Linked DNA regions of Homo sapiens: regions 1 and 3 are each linked to region 2. The links are contacts of gene promoters, found by promoter capture Hi-C in blood cells and fetal thymus (Javierre and others, 2016). All regions are on one chromosome and are shown on one strand. The core of a region is centred on a gene start or on the middle of the fragment in contact, and the rest is flanking DNA. Distances in the headings are between cores, read along the strand shown. Region 1 has its middle 120 kb from the start of TTLL2. Region 2 holds the start of FRMD1 (FERM domain containing 1). Region 3 overlaps LOC105378127 (a long non-coding RNA gene).

The links. Contacts are between HindIII fragments. The CHiCAGO score rates a contact against its expected background, and 5 or more counts as called.
Region 1: a fragment that was not itself captured here is called in contact with the fragment with the promoter of FRMD1 in region 2 in 1 of 17 cell types (monocytes); the score reaches 5.1 in monocytes.
Region 3: a contact is called between a fragment that was not itself captured here and the fragment with the promoter of FRMD1 in region 2, in 2 of 17 cell types (M0 macrophages and M1 macrophages). The highest score is 6.5, in M0 macrophages.

What each region holds. Positions count from the first base shown.
Region 1 is chr6:167,442,440-167,446,151 of GRCh38, reverse strand. No RefSeq gene overlaps it. Among named protein-coding and RNA genes, the nearest start is that of TTLL2, 120 kb to the right of the region's middle. RefSeq lists enhancers at 2,619-3,488, 3,489-3,712. The HindIII fragment of the contact is 3,369 bases long and covers 666-3,712 here.
Region 2 is chr6:168,076,405-168,080,548 of GRCh38, reverse strand. FRMD1 (FERM domain containing 1) reads left to right here and starts at 1,337. Exons shown (of 11, transcript NM_024919.6): 1 at 1,337-1,667. The coding sequence starts at 1,455. RefSeq lists an enhancer at 1,625-2,346. The HindIII fragment of the contact is 11,905 bases long and covers 1-4,144 here.
Region 3 is chr6:167,464,727-167,468,658 of GRCh38, reverse strand. All of the region lies in intron 1 of LOC105378127 (a long non-coding RNA gene), which reads left to right. Among named protein-coding and RNA genes, the nearest start is that of TTLL2, 140 kb to the right of the region's middle. The HindIII fragment of the contact is 184 bases long and covers 2,520-2,703 here.

The sequences.
Region 1 (3,712 bases), core at 1,101-3,600, 640 kb after region 2:
AAGCTCTCATCTTCAGAAAGCGTTGAACAGAAGCAGAGGGGAAACGTGTAGGGTCGCGGGTGAGGGGCAGCACGACACGGGGATTAGCTGGGGGATAATGGTGAAATGTTCAAAACTAAAGGCCCACAAGGAACCTGGAGACATTCTAAAACACTTTATTAAAAGCCAAAGGAATGCTAGGTCGCCCCAGAATTTATTATTTAAAAAAGCCAGTGGAAGATACATCCTATGTCAAAAAGCCAAGAGAAGGTGCAACTAATTTTTTATAGGGACGTGACACAAAGGAGAAAGTCAGACAGGAATCTATCCTGCAGTTGTGAAGTTGTGAGGTAATGCAATGTGCAGCACTTTGTCACTCCACAGATATTGCCAGCACTTCTTCTGTTTCAGGCTTGGTATGCGGAGCTGGCGTTAAATCTGTCTTCAAAACCAGCCATGGTTTCTGCCACTGTGAGTCTGAGCCTGGGAGGAGATGGGCCTTCACCGAATCACGCAGGTGGAGACACGCTGGGTGCTGGGGACGGTGGGGCTGGTGCAGCAGGGAGCCCCTGCAGGAATCAAGTTCTGGTGAGATCTGCATGAGAAGATGAGGGGCTTCCCAGAGAGGGGAGATGGGACCCAGTAACTGTGATAAAGAGCAGCATCTCCGGACCCTGAGGCAAGCTTATCTGGGCAAAAAGCACCCGCAAACTTAAAGGGAAAATGATTTTCCATATGCAGGTAGGATAAAACCTTTGGCCTCACAAAGGGAGATGGAAGCTATCTGGGTATGGCTGAAGTAGACAGGGCAAGCCCTGCTCCCCACTTTGCAGAAAACCTAAGAGAATTCCTGCAAGAAGTAGAGACCATGGCCTCTCCTAGTGTCTGTTGCTCTCAGCAAATACCCCATGAAATTGAAGAGCTGAATTCTTAAATAGGTCCATGAAGAATCAAGATAAACTCATTAGCAGTAGATTTACAAGGAGCTGAGCTATGAGTGACAGCTGGAAATTGCCTGGTAGGTGCCAGGCTCCTTGCATTGATGCTGTAGGACACAAACTTGTCATTTCTTGTGGGGAGTTTGACAGCAGAGCACTGAGTTGACTCCAGGTGGAGTTCATGATGCCCTGTGGGCGCTGGTGTCACTAACTCCCTGCTATCCCATGGATGTCTTTCTCCTTGTGTACACTTGAGACTCAGCTGACCCCCTGGGTCTGCTCATAGAAGAGACCAGAATGTTCACTCGTTTAACCAACACTGCTGCTGAGAGTTGGGGAGCGTGCAGAGCCCACTGCAGAATTGGTGGTTTCTTCCGAAGGTCAGGAGGTTAGCAGAAGGTGGGAGCGGGCTTGGTAAGGTAACAAAGTCTGGAAGCTGAGTGACACCAAGTGGTCATAACTTTTTGGCGTGACCACTATTACCGGAGTGTTTGCTGTGTGCCAGGCTGGGTAAGTAATGGCAGGCAAGACGGGCATAGCCTACGTCCTTGTAGGCCTCACAGTTTAGCAAGACATTTATAAACAGTCTGAAATTGCCAGAAGGCTCAAGGTAGCTTATCTATATGACATTATTTCTTTGTTCATTCTATAGACCAGAGGTCCATGGGTTGTTGACAGAACCTCAAACCCTTTCCCCTGCAATGGAAAGCTATTTTTCAGATTATGATAATTATCTACCTGTGTCACAAAAAATATCAAATTGATATGGACAGGAGGCAGGGAAATACTGGGCAGAAGAGGGCAGTTCCCTGGCAAGTCACCACCCTCAAGCCTGGAAACCATAGCCCTAAATGAGAACAGTTATCCCTGTTTTCTTGCCCAAATGTTACCTTTTGGCCCACCCCACCCCCTATCCTGTGCCTATATAAACCCCAGGCCTCAGCTGGCAAAGAGACAAGTGGCTGAACGTTGAGAGAAGAAGCAGCTGAGCATCAGAGACTATGGATAGATGTGGCTTAACTTCAGACGGCACAGCTTCAGAGAGGAGCCTGGCTGCAGATGGCCGGGCTTCAGGGAAAGATAACCTTCTCCCTGCTCCATCCCACTTCCAGCTCCCCTTCTGCTGAGAGCCACTTCCACCACTTAATAAAATCCTCTGCATTCATCACCTTTCAAACCATTTGTGTGGCCCGATTCTTCCTGGACGCTGGACAAGAATTCAGCATGCACTGGATGTGGGAACCCATAAAGGCTGTCACACTGACTCTTCACTGAGCTGTTTAACACTTAAGCCATCTGTGGACGGCAAAGCTAAAAGAGCATTAATTGTAATGCAACCCTAGATGCTGCTGTGGGTCTGGAGCCCAAAAGCCCTTGCCAGGGTCCCAGCACCCACTCGCCTATGTGCTCCCTCCCATGAGGGGTTGAGTCCAGCAGGTTCAAGTGATTGAAGTTCGTCCCTGCTAGTGCTGAAGTGGCCAACTGGACCCAGAGGTGCACTCCAGTTCCTACCCATGAAAGAGTCAAGGAATTATCCCATCTCATAAGTGCCGTAAAATACACAATCCTTATATATTTCCTAAGTCACATATATGAAAGACTGCTTCCCTTCGCCTCCTCCTGTGCCCTCTAAACTCAGTTAGGGGATCCATCTATGAGCACCACCTTCTCCGGCTCCTTATGGATTTTAATTGCAATTGCTTCCCTCACCCTTCATCTTCCCCACCCACTCTGCCTTGACACTCCTGTACCGAGGCAAAGTGTTCTGGGCCAGGCAGGAAATAATTCATTCGTTCTGTATCTCAAAGCCACACGAATCCAAAGCATGACTTGTTTTTCAACATCCCTTTCTTGTCTGTCAAGAATGGCTGTGCATTTTGAAACAGAGGCTGTCTCGGGAGGGAACGCAGACCTTCAGGGCGGAATCCTGAATCTGGATCTGCAGCAACAACACAGAGAATAAAGCCAGGGGGACCTCCACCCACCCGGGGGTGAGATAGAGGCACAGCTGACAGACACAATGGCTCAATGACTTTTATTTGAATTTCAGCAATTTAACAACCTCCAAAAGGAAGCCAGTGAATACTGAACTTTTTACCTCCTCAAAGTGTATTTCCAATTGTTGTCTATATTGTCCCATGTTGTTGTTTAGTAGTGTGTCCAAATGCTTGTGTCACATTTTTCTCCATGTACTCTGCGTACAGTTTTCGTATTTTTGAAGGAAACTGCCTCCTTGTCAGTTTCAATGATTGTAGTGCTTTCATCATCCATAGCTGGCTAAACCGCAGTGACTTGGGGTTTTAAAATTAAGTCCATCATCCAACAAACATTTTGAGAAAAGGAAGACAGAAGAGGATCCCCATCCTTGAAGGCCTGGCCTCTGCTGCGGGACCCCCTCCCCCGACCCCGGCTGAATTTTTCAGGCCAGATGGTCCTTTTCTGCATCTTTTTTACCATTGTCAGCCATGAAATTTTGTAGGATGGCCTCTCTACTTATCTTTTTAAAACACCTTTTTGTTACATCAAATTCATCTTCTGTGGTATCTCATTTTCTTCAGATTTTCTGTTGCCTAGGAAGTTAAATAGGGGATTGTTTCAGGAAACGTGAGTAGATGTGGGCTGCTGTGTTCTCTGTAAGCCCTTGCCAGGTGGAAGGAGGGGCTGCTTTTCATCTGACAAGAATTTCTGCAGCAGCAGGGCAGGCTCATTAAGATTTTTCCCATGCCACATAACAAAAGATGGCTGGGGAATAACAAAAGTGAGATTCTGGAGTGTGTGTTTCTTTGTCATGCACG
Region 2 (4,144 bases), core at 88-2,587:
GAGGGCACCCGGCACAGGGACGAGCTGCTCAGGCGCCAGTGGCACAGGGCCATGAGGATCCAGCCTCTGCTCTCTGGGGCTGTTTTTTTTTGTGGTTTTTTTGCCATTTTTAAAACTTTTTGTGCTCTCAGCTAAAGGGATCCCCACATCTTCCATAGTGAACAGCTCTACGTTTGCTGTGGAGAGAAAAGAGACCGCCACTGCTGTCTTGGGCACACATGTGTGGCCTCGAGGGTCTGGGAAGGGTCTGGATCTGAGCGGAGGGAGGGAGGGAGGGAGCCAGTGTCAGTCCAGGGTCCGGGGGAGGTGAGGCCTAAGCCTCCTAAATCTTCTCAACCCACCGGGCCGGGCCTTAGGGCGGCTGGAGTGCGAATTTCCTAAACCCACCGGGCCAGGCCTTAAGGCGGCTGGAGTGCGAATTTCCTAAGATGAACAACGGCCCGTCCGGAGGTCCAGACCCCTTACTAGAGGAAGGTCCCAGAGCATCCCAGACTCCATGGCAGGAAACTGATGGAGCTCACGGCTGAGGACAGAATTCCACAGCCCAGGCCCGTGGGAACTGCCTCTCCTGACCTGCAGCGCCCAAAGGTCTGGGTGGTCCCAGGGCCAGGCAGGATCCTGGGGTCCCTTCCCCACCTAACACTGTGCCAAAGAGCTCGAAGGCGTTGCTCATCTCTGCTGAGCGGCCTCAGGGGTTCCAGGCCCTGCGGGAGATGTCCCCACCCCTCGTGCTGATGCACCCGGCTGCTGTCCACGCAAGCCAGGACCCCCTTCCTGGCCTTCCAGCTGCTGCAGGCAGGAAGGGATTTGCTGGCCCTGGACAAGGAAGGAAGTGTCCTCAGTTTCCAGCCCCTAAAGGGAGCCAGGGTCCCTCCTGGCAGAACCTGTCCAGGAACGGCAGCTGTGCTGCTTCCTGAGGTCGATAACAGATGCCACAGGAGGTGTGTGGGGCAGGGTGCCCACCCAGGCTGCCTTCCTCCCGCCCTCCTCGTCCTGCCCTGCTGCTGCTCCATCTTCCCCAGCAGCCCTGGCTCTGGCATCTGTGCCCATGGGGTTTGCATAGCCCTCTCCACATTATAGAAGAAGGAGCAGGCACCCTGAGGAGATAGGGGTTGTCAGGTGGAGGAGTTGGGTCCTGTCTCCCCCAGCCTGGTTCTCACGGGGCCCACACCGAGGCTGGCTGCTGAGCTACCCTGCATGGGAGTGCTGCATGGCGGGTGCCCAGCCTGAGGTTGTTTATTTGCATTCCTGGCGCCCTCCACACACCCAGCTATTTGCAGCTCTGACCCTTGTCCTGGCTTGGCCATGCTGGATTCCCAGCCCAGGCTTCCCTCTCAATTCCCTTCCCAGTGAGAAGCTCGGCAAGGGCGGGTCCCGGAAAGCACAGCTGTGATCTGGGAGGTGCTGAGCACCCACCTGCGACCCATGGCGGGGGAGGGCCGAGTAACGACAGCATGGCGGTGCCCCCGAGAGGGAGGGGCATAGACCCCGCCCGGACAAACCCTGACACGTTCCCTCCTTCAGGGGCGCGATGTATGGAACCCAGTCCTGAGAGGCCTGCATGCAGTCAGCAGGAGCCGACCCTGGGAATGGACGCGATGGCCTCGGAACACAGGGATGTCCTCGTGCTGCTGCCCAGCCGGGAGCAACTGCGGCTGGCCGTGGGGGTGAGCAGGGCCCTGGGTGGCCGTGGGGGTAAACAGAGCTGTGGGGGTGAGCAGGGCTCCGGGTGGCCGTGGGGGTGAGCAGGGCCCTGGGTGGCCGTGGGGGTGAGCAGGGCCCTGGATGGCCTTGGGAGTAAACAGAGCCATGGGGGTGAGGAGGGCCCTGGGTGGCCATAGGGGTGAGCAGGGCTGTGGGGGTGAGCAGAGCCATGGGGGTGAGCAGGGCCCTGGGTGGCCGTGGGGGTGAGCAAGGCTGTGGGGGTGAGCAGGGCCGTGAGGGTGAGCAGAGCCGTGGGGGTGAGCAGGGCTGTGAGGGTGAGCAGAGCCGTGGGGGTGAGCAGGGCCGTGGGGGTGAGCAGGGGTATGGGGTGAGCAGAGCCTCAGGACACAGCCTGTGTATGGAAAGTCCCTGGACCGCCTCACTCTGCTTAGGCCAGGTGTCTGTGAGGTGTCAAGGGCCAGCCCTTTCACTGGGCCTGTGAAGGAAACATCCCTGATAGACGTTGCTGTGAGAAATAAGTTTATGGTTCAGCACATCCTTCCCGGGAGGGAGCGCTGAGGGAAGAGCGCCAGGAAGCCGGTTTCCAAGGAGCAGCTCCTGTCTTGTGTTCAGACGTCACCATCTCTATGCTTCTCTATTTCCTTTTCTTTTCCCTTTCCCCCATTTTGTCTACCTGTTTTAGTTGAGTTCATGGCGACAGGAGTTGAGATGGTACTTTCATTTTAATGATTAATGTGGATAATGAAAATGTGGCAATTAAAATGAGAGTGGTTTGTTGAAGAACGATGACTTTCTGCATAGCTAATGTATCATTGCTACCTGGAATGGAGTATGACTTGCTAGTAATATCCTGGTTCAAGTCCCCTGGGAATCTGGGAGTCTCTTGTCTGCTTCGGGATAGAGTTCTGTGTTTACGTAAACGCCCACATCTATGTTTGTGGCAAAATCTTCCCCAAGACTCTGTGTCCCCACCCAGCAACGAGAAGCTGGAGTTGAGCTAATGGGGGATGTCCTGTAGTTTCCTGGGGTCCCCAGCAGTGCCTCGGGCTGGGGGAGGGGTCATAAGAGGACCTGTTGTGGGGAAGATGCTGGGGCTTTGGCCCCCTACCCCATAAGAGCTGGAACTTTTAGGTTTCTTGCACGGAACTTCACGGTAAGATTTTAACTGAGGGATCATGCAGCTAGAACATAGTGAACCGCCTGTTCTGAACAGGTGAATCGTGCTCATCTGCTTTTGACGGAGCTCCCTGAAGTGCCTCTGCAACTCCTGTGGCCCCTGCTGGGCCTGGCAAGTTGGCAACCACAGAGCCACTTCCTATCGGGGTGTGCGCACATCTGTGTCTGCAGTTGGACAGGAACCCCTCACTGGGTTGTGCAGTCATCTATGTCTGCAGTTAGACAGGAACCCCCCCACAGGGTGTGTGCACATCTGTGTCTGCAGTTGGACAGGAACCCCTCACTGGGTTGTGCAGTCATCTATGTCTGCAGTTAGACAGGAACCCCCCCACAGGGTGTGTGCACATCTGTGTCTGCAGTTGGACAGGAACCCCTCATTGGGGTTTGCAGTCGTCTATGTCTGCAGTTAGACAAGAACCCCCCCCCATCGGAGTGTGTGCACATCTGTGTCTGCAGTTGGACAGAAACCCCCTATTGAGGTGTGCACACATCTGTGTCTGCAGTAGGAGAGGAACCCTCTATCAGATGTGCATGCATCTGTGTCTGCAGTAGGAGAGGAACCCTCTGTTGGTGTGTGCACACATCTCTGTCTGCAGTAGGACAGCAACCCTCTGTTGGGGTGTGCATGCATCTGAGTCTGCAGTAGGAGAGGAACCCTCTGTTGGGGTGTGCATGCATCTGTGTCTGCAGTTGGACAGGAACCCTCTGTTGGGGTGTGCACGCATCCGTATCTACAGTTGGACAGGAACCCTCTATTGGGGTGTATACTCGTGTGTATCTGTAGTTAGACAGGGAACGCTCTATTGGAGTGTGTGCACACCTGTGTCTGCAGTTAGACAGGAACCCTGTATTCAACCAAATATGTGTCAAGCCCAGTTATTCGAAAGGGATGGGCTGGGAAGACCCTCACTGAAGATCTGTGTTACCGTCATTGTGGGGCCTGCCCCTCACCAAGTTAAGCAGACAATAATCATATTAGTCTGTTCTCACGCTGCTAATAAAGACATACCCAAGACTTGGTAATTTATAAAGGAAAGAGGTTTAATTGACTCACAGTTCCACATGGCTGGGGAGGCCTCAGGAAACTTACAGTCATGGCAGAAGGCACCTCTTCACAGGGTGGCAGGAGAGAGAATGAGTGCCCAGCGAAGGGGGAAGTGCCTTATAAAACCATCAGATCTCATGAGAACTCTCTCACTATCATGAGAACTGGATGGGGGAACCACCCCCGTGATTCAGTCACCTCCCACCGGCTCACTCTCACAGCACAGGAAGATTATGAGAACTACAATTCAAGATGCGA
Region 3 (3,932 bases), core at 1,362-3,861, 610 kb after region 2:
TTATATATTTAATCCTATTTCAAGATGTTGAAGAGAAGGGGACATCATGGTCACACAGACTCGGTGACAGCTGAGAAATGTGTAGCAGTGTCTCGACATCATGGTCATACAGACTCAGTGAAGGCTGAGAAATGTGTCACTGTGTCTCGACGTCATGGTCACACGGACCCGGTGAAGGCTGAGAAACGCATAGCAGTGTCTCGACATCATGGTCACACGGACTACACGGACTCGGTTAAGGCTGAGAAATGTGTCCCAGCGTCTCGACGTCATGGTCACACGGACCCGGTGAAGGCTGAGAAATGTGTCACAGCATCTCGACATCATGGTCACATAGACTCGGTGAAGGCTGAGAAATGTGTCCCAGCGTCTCGACGTCACGGTCACACGGACCCGGTGAAGGCTGAAAAATGTGTCACAGTGTCTTGACGTCATGGTCACACAGACTCGGTGAAGGCTAAGAAATGTGTCCCAGCGTCTCGATGTCACGGTCACACGGACCCGGTGAAGGCTGAGAAATGTGTCCCAGCGTCTCGACGTCATGGTCACACGGACCCGGTGAAGGCTGAGAAATGTGTCGCAGCGTCTCAATGACATGGTCACACGGAGTCAGTGAAGGCTGAGAAATGTGTCGCAGTGTCTCGACGTCACGATCTCATGGAGTTGGTGAAGGCTGAGAAACATGTGGCAGCATCTCGACATCATGATCACAGAGACTCGGTGAAGGCTGAGAAATGTGTCGCAGTGTCTCTACGTGGTGCAGGAATGACAGAGTTTCGGATCAGAGGGGTGTGGGATCCACCACATTGCAGTTTATAGTCGTGCTTGTCAAATGCTTATTTCTACTTTAGCTGTTTAAAACATGAAACAAAATGATTTTGAATTTTTTGTGTGTGGTATTTTTCCTAAATAGATTGAATCTTAGATTTAGATTGTGATTACTGAGTAATGTGGAGAAGGAATTATGGGTGTTGTCTAAAATCTTGTGAGTCTAAGGCAAAGTGAAATAGAAAAGTGAATTATTACACATCAAACAAATAACATTTATTGATGACTTGGTTTGTAAGCACAAATCTAGGAAGTATATGTGGGAGGTATTTTAAAACCCGAGGTGGGAATAAATCCTTAGAGGAAAATGAGCACACGTAGAATGAGGGAGCACGGGGAGCATCAGAGCTTCACTCTGTGCTCCCGATCCAAGCACACGGGGAGGCGTGAAGACTCCAGGTGTTGGAAGGGTTTCTCTAAGGGAAATTAATCGAACCCATAGGGGAAGGCAAAGGTACTGTTTCGATAATGACTAGACTAACAAAATATGGTTACAGGAAATATTTAACGCCCAAAAATAAAACCTAAACTGGTTTCTGAGGCTGTTCTATTGTGCTGTGGCGTTCAGACCAGACCTGGAACTACTTTCAGGAGAGACCGTCAGGGGTTGTAGCACTTATAAGGGTGACCCAGGTAGTGGAAGACTGGAGACTAAACATAACCCAAACTAGAGTTATTCTATGATTTAATAATAATAATAAAATTATTAACTAGAACAGCTAACATTTATTGAATATCTACAAAGGGCCAGGCATTTTGTCATGCATTAATTCATTTTGTCTTCAGAATAGGTTATAAATTTGTATTTACAGTGATTGATTAATTAATTTTGGCTTGATAACATATACACATGGTAGAAAATTCAAAAGCTACAAAAGATGTAAAATGAAAAGTGAGCCTGCCGATGCCCTAATGTGAAGGCCCCCATCCCTTCTGGGAAAGTAACTATCAATAATGCTTTACTGCGTTTCCTTCCAGATGTATTTTATATACACTATATATTTATATAAACTATATATTTATATAAATAGGCTCGGCAGATTATTTTTTACTTTATGCTTATCGATAAATCTTTCATTTCCACATAACGGTACTTAATACACTACATCATTCATTTTAATAGTTGCATAGAATTCCATTCTTACAAATGGGCTGTAGTTTATTTAATCATCCCCCTTTCGAGGGACCCTTGGATTGTTGCCAGTCCTCTGCTGTTAACAAGCAACACCTCAGGGAATGATACCATGGTTTCACATGCCTGTGGCTGTCTGTCAGACTCAGCTTCCCAAAACGAGTCCCGCACCTCTCCTGCAAGTAGCTTTCTTTTGCAGCTTCATTCCCAAGTCAGGCAGATTTCCTCCAGGGACATCAACCAAAACCACACCTCACTAGGGCCGAGTGCAGAAGTGGAGCTGGGAATCTGGTTGTCTTCTCCCAGGCCAATTTGTAAAAATGTGAAACAATGCCCTGTTTTCACTAATATTTTTGGAAAATATAACCACTTTTAATGAAAATGTGTTTTATATTGTTATGCAATGGGATTATTATTATTTTATGATATAATACATCTCTTTTAAGTTCATCACTTATAATTTTTAATGTAAATGTCAGTCTATGTAACCCATGTAAACAAAAGTCTTTGGGGCCTCAGTAAGATTTGGAGTATAAAGTGGTGCCAAAACCAAAAAGCTTGAGAATTGCTTCTGTGATTTATAATTTTAGAAGTAGAATTGGTAGGTACAAGTTACGTGCTTTTGTATTTTGGTAGATATTGTCAAATTCCCCTTCCTGTAAACTCTATCAATTTATATTCCCACCAACAATGTATACGGACGCCTGTTTCCTCTAGGCCTGGTCAGCAGCTGTTGTTAAGCTTTTTTGATCGTTGCCTAATTGAGAGTTGAAAATACACCTTTACTGAGTTTAATTTTGTATTTTTCTTATTTTGTATCAGCTTGAGTATGCCTCTGTATGGTTGAGAGCCGATGACATTTTCTTTTTATTAAACAATCTGTTGATGTTCTTTGTGTATTTTCCACCAGGCGATGTGTGTTTCAATGGTCTTTAGGTGCTCAGTGTGAGCCTTCTGCTGTGTGTGCTGGGCACTGTCCTCTCTTACTGGGTCCATGTCTGGACGTCCTGTTCTATTCCAATTGTTTGTGACAACTGGGCAGGAAAGAATTGTCCAGCCATTTGAGTGATTGATTGAACTGGCTGCGTTGCTGAGACATAAACACGTTCTCAGAGGAGTATTTAACAAAGGATTGGGTATTGAAGCAAAGTTCTAGTTCTGTAAAGAAGGTGGAACTTGAGGCACTCTAAAGTTCTTTGAAATACCCTAATATTATCTCAAAGTGTGCCCCTGCATTGCAAAGCAGGCCACATGGAAGAGGGCCTGGATGCTGCTATTGAATTAGAAATTATCCTCCTGCGTAGAAAGTGTTTGGTGCGTACTTTTTTTTTTTTAGAATATTTTATTTTATTTTATTTTTCAGTAACTATTTATTTATTTATTTATTTATTTATTTATTATTATACTTTGGTGCATACTTTTAAGAAAGAGCTTCAAGTGACCTATTGAGCAAGGGGCCAGACTGCAAATGGCTATGAGGTCTTTTTCTGAAAAATCAAAAGTAGAATGTTGCATCTGGAATAAACCTGAGAGTCTTATGTTACACAGAAGAAAACTGCATCCAGAAAGATGAAGGAGCTTGCAAGAGGCCACACAGCATAAGACTGGAGCCAGAGTCTGGATCTCATTCTCACTACCATTCCATGCCCAAAAGGCATATTGATTAATGACTTTAAAAATATTCTGAAACATTCACGCAGCATGGCTTGCTTCTGCTCTGTCGTTTAAATGGTTATTATTTCTTATTTCATTCAGAAATTGCTTTAAGTGTTACTGCCTCTCACTAAAGACAACTGTATAGCTGCCTTTCACAAAGATTAGATGATGCCTGCATTTCCTAACAGAGGTCTGGCCTTTGCTGATACTTTCACAGAAGACAACAGCTAGCAAATAGTTGACCAATGATCACCATTGATCATTCCAGGTTATTCATCAAACACTAGTTGTACTTTTTTTCCCCTTCTTCTTCACA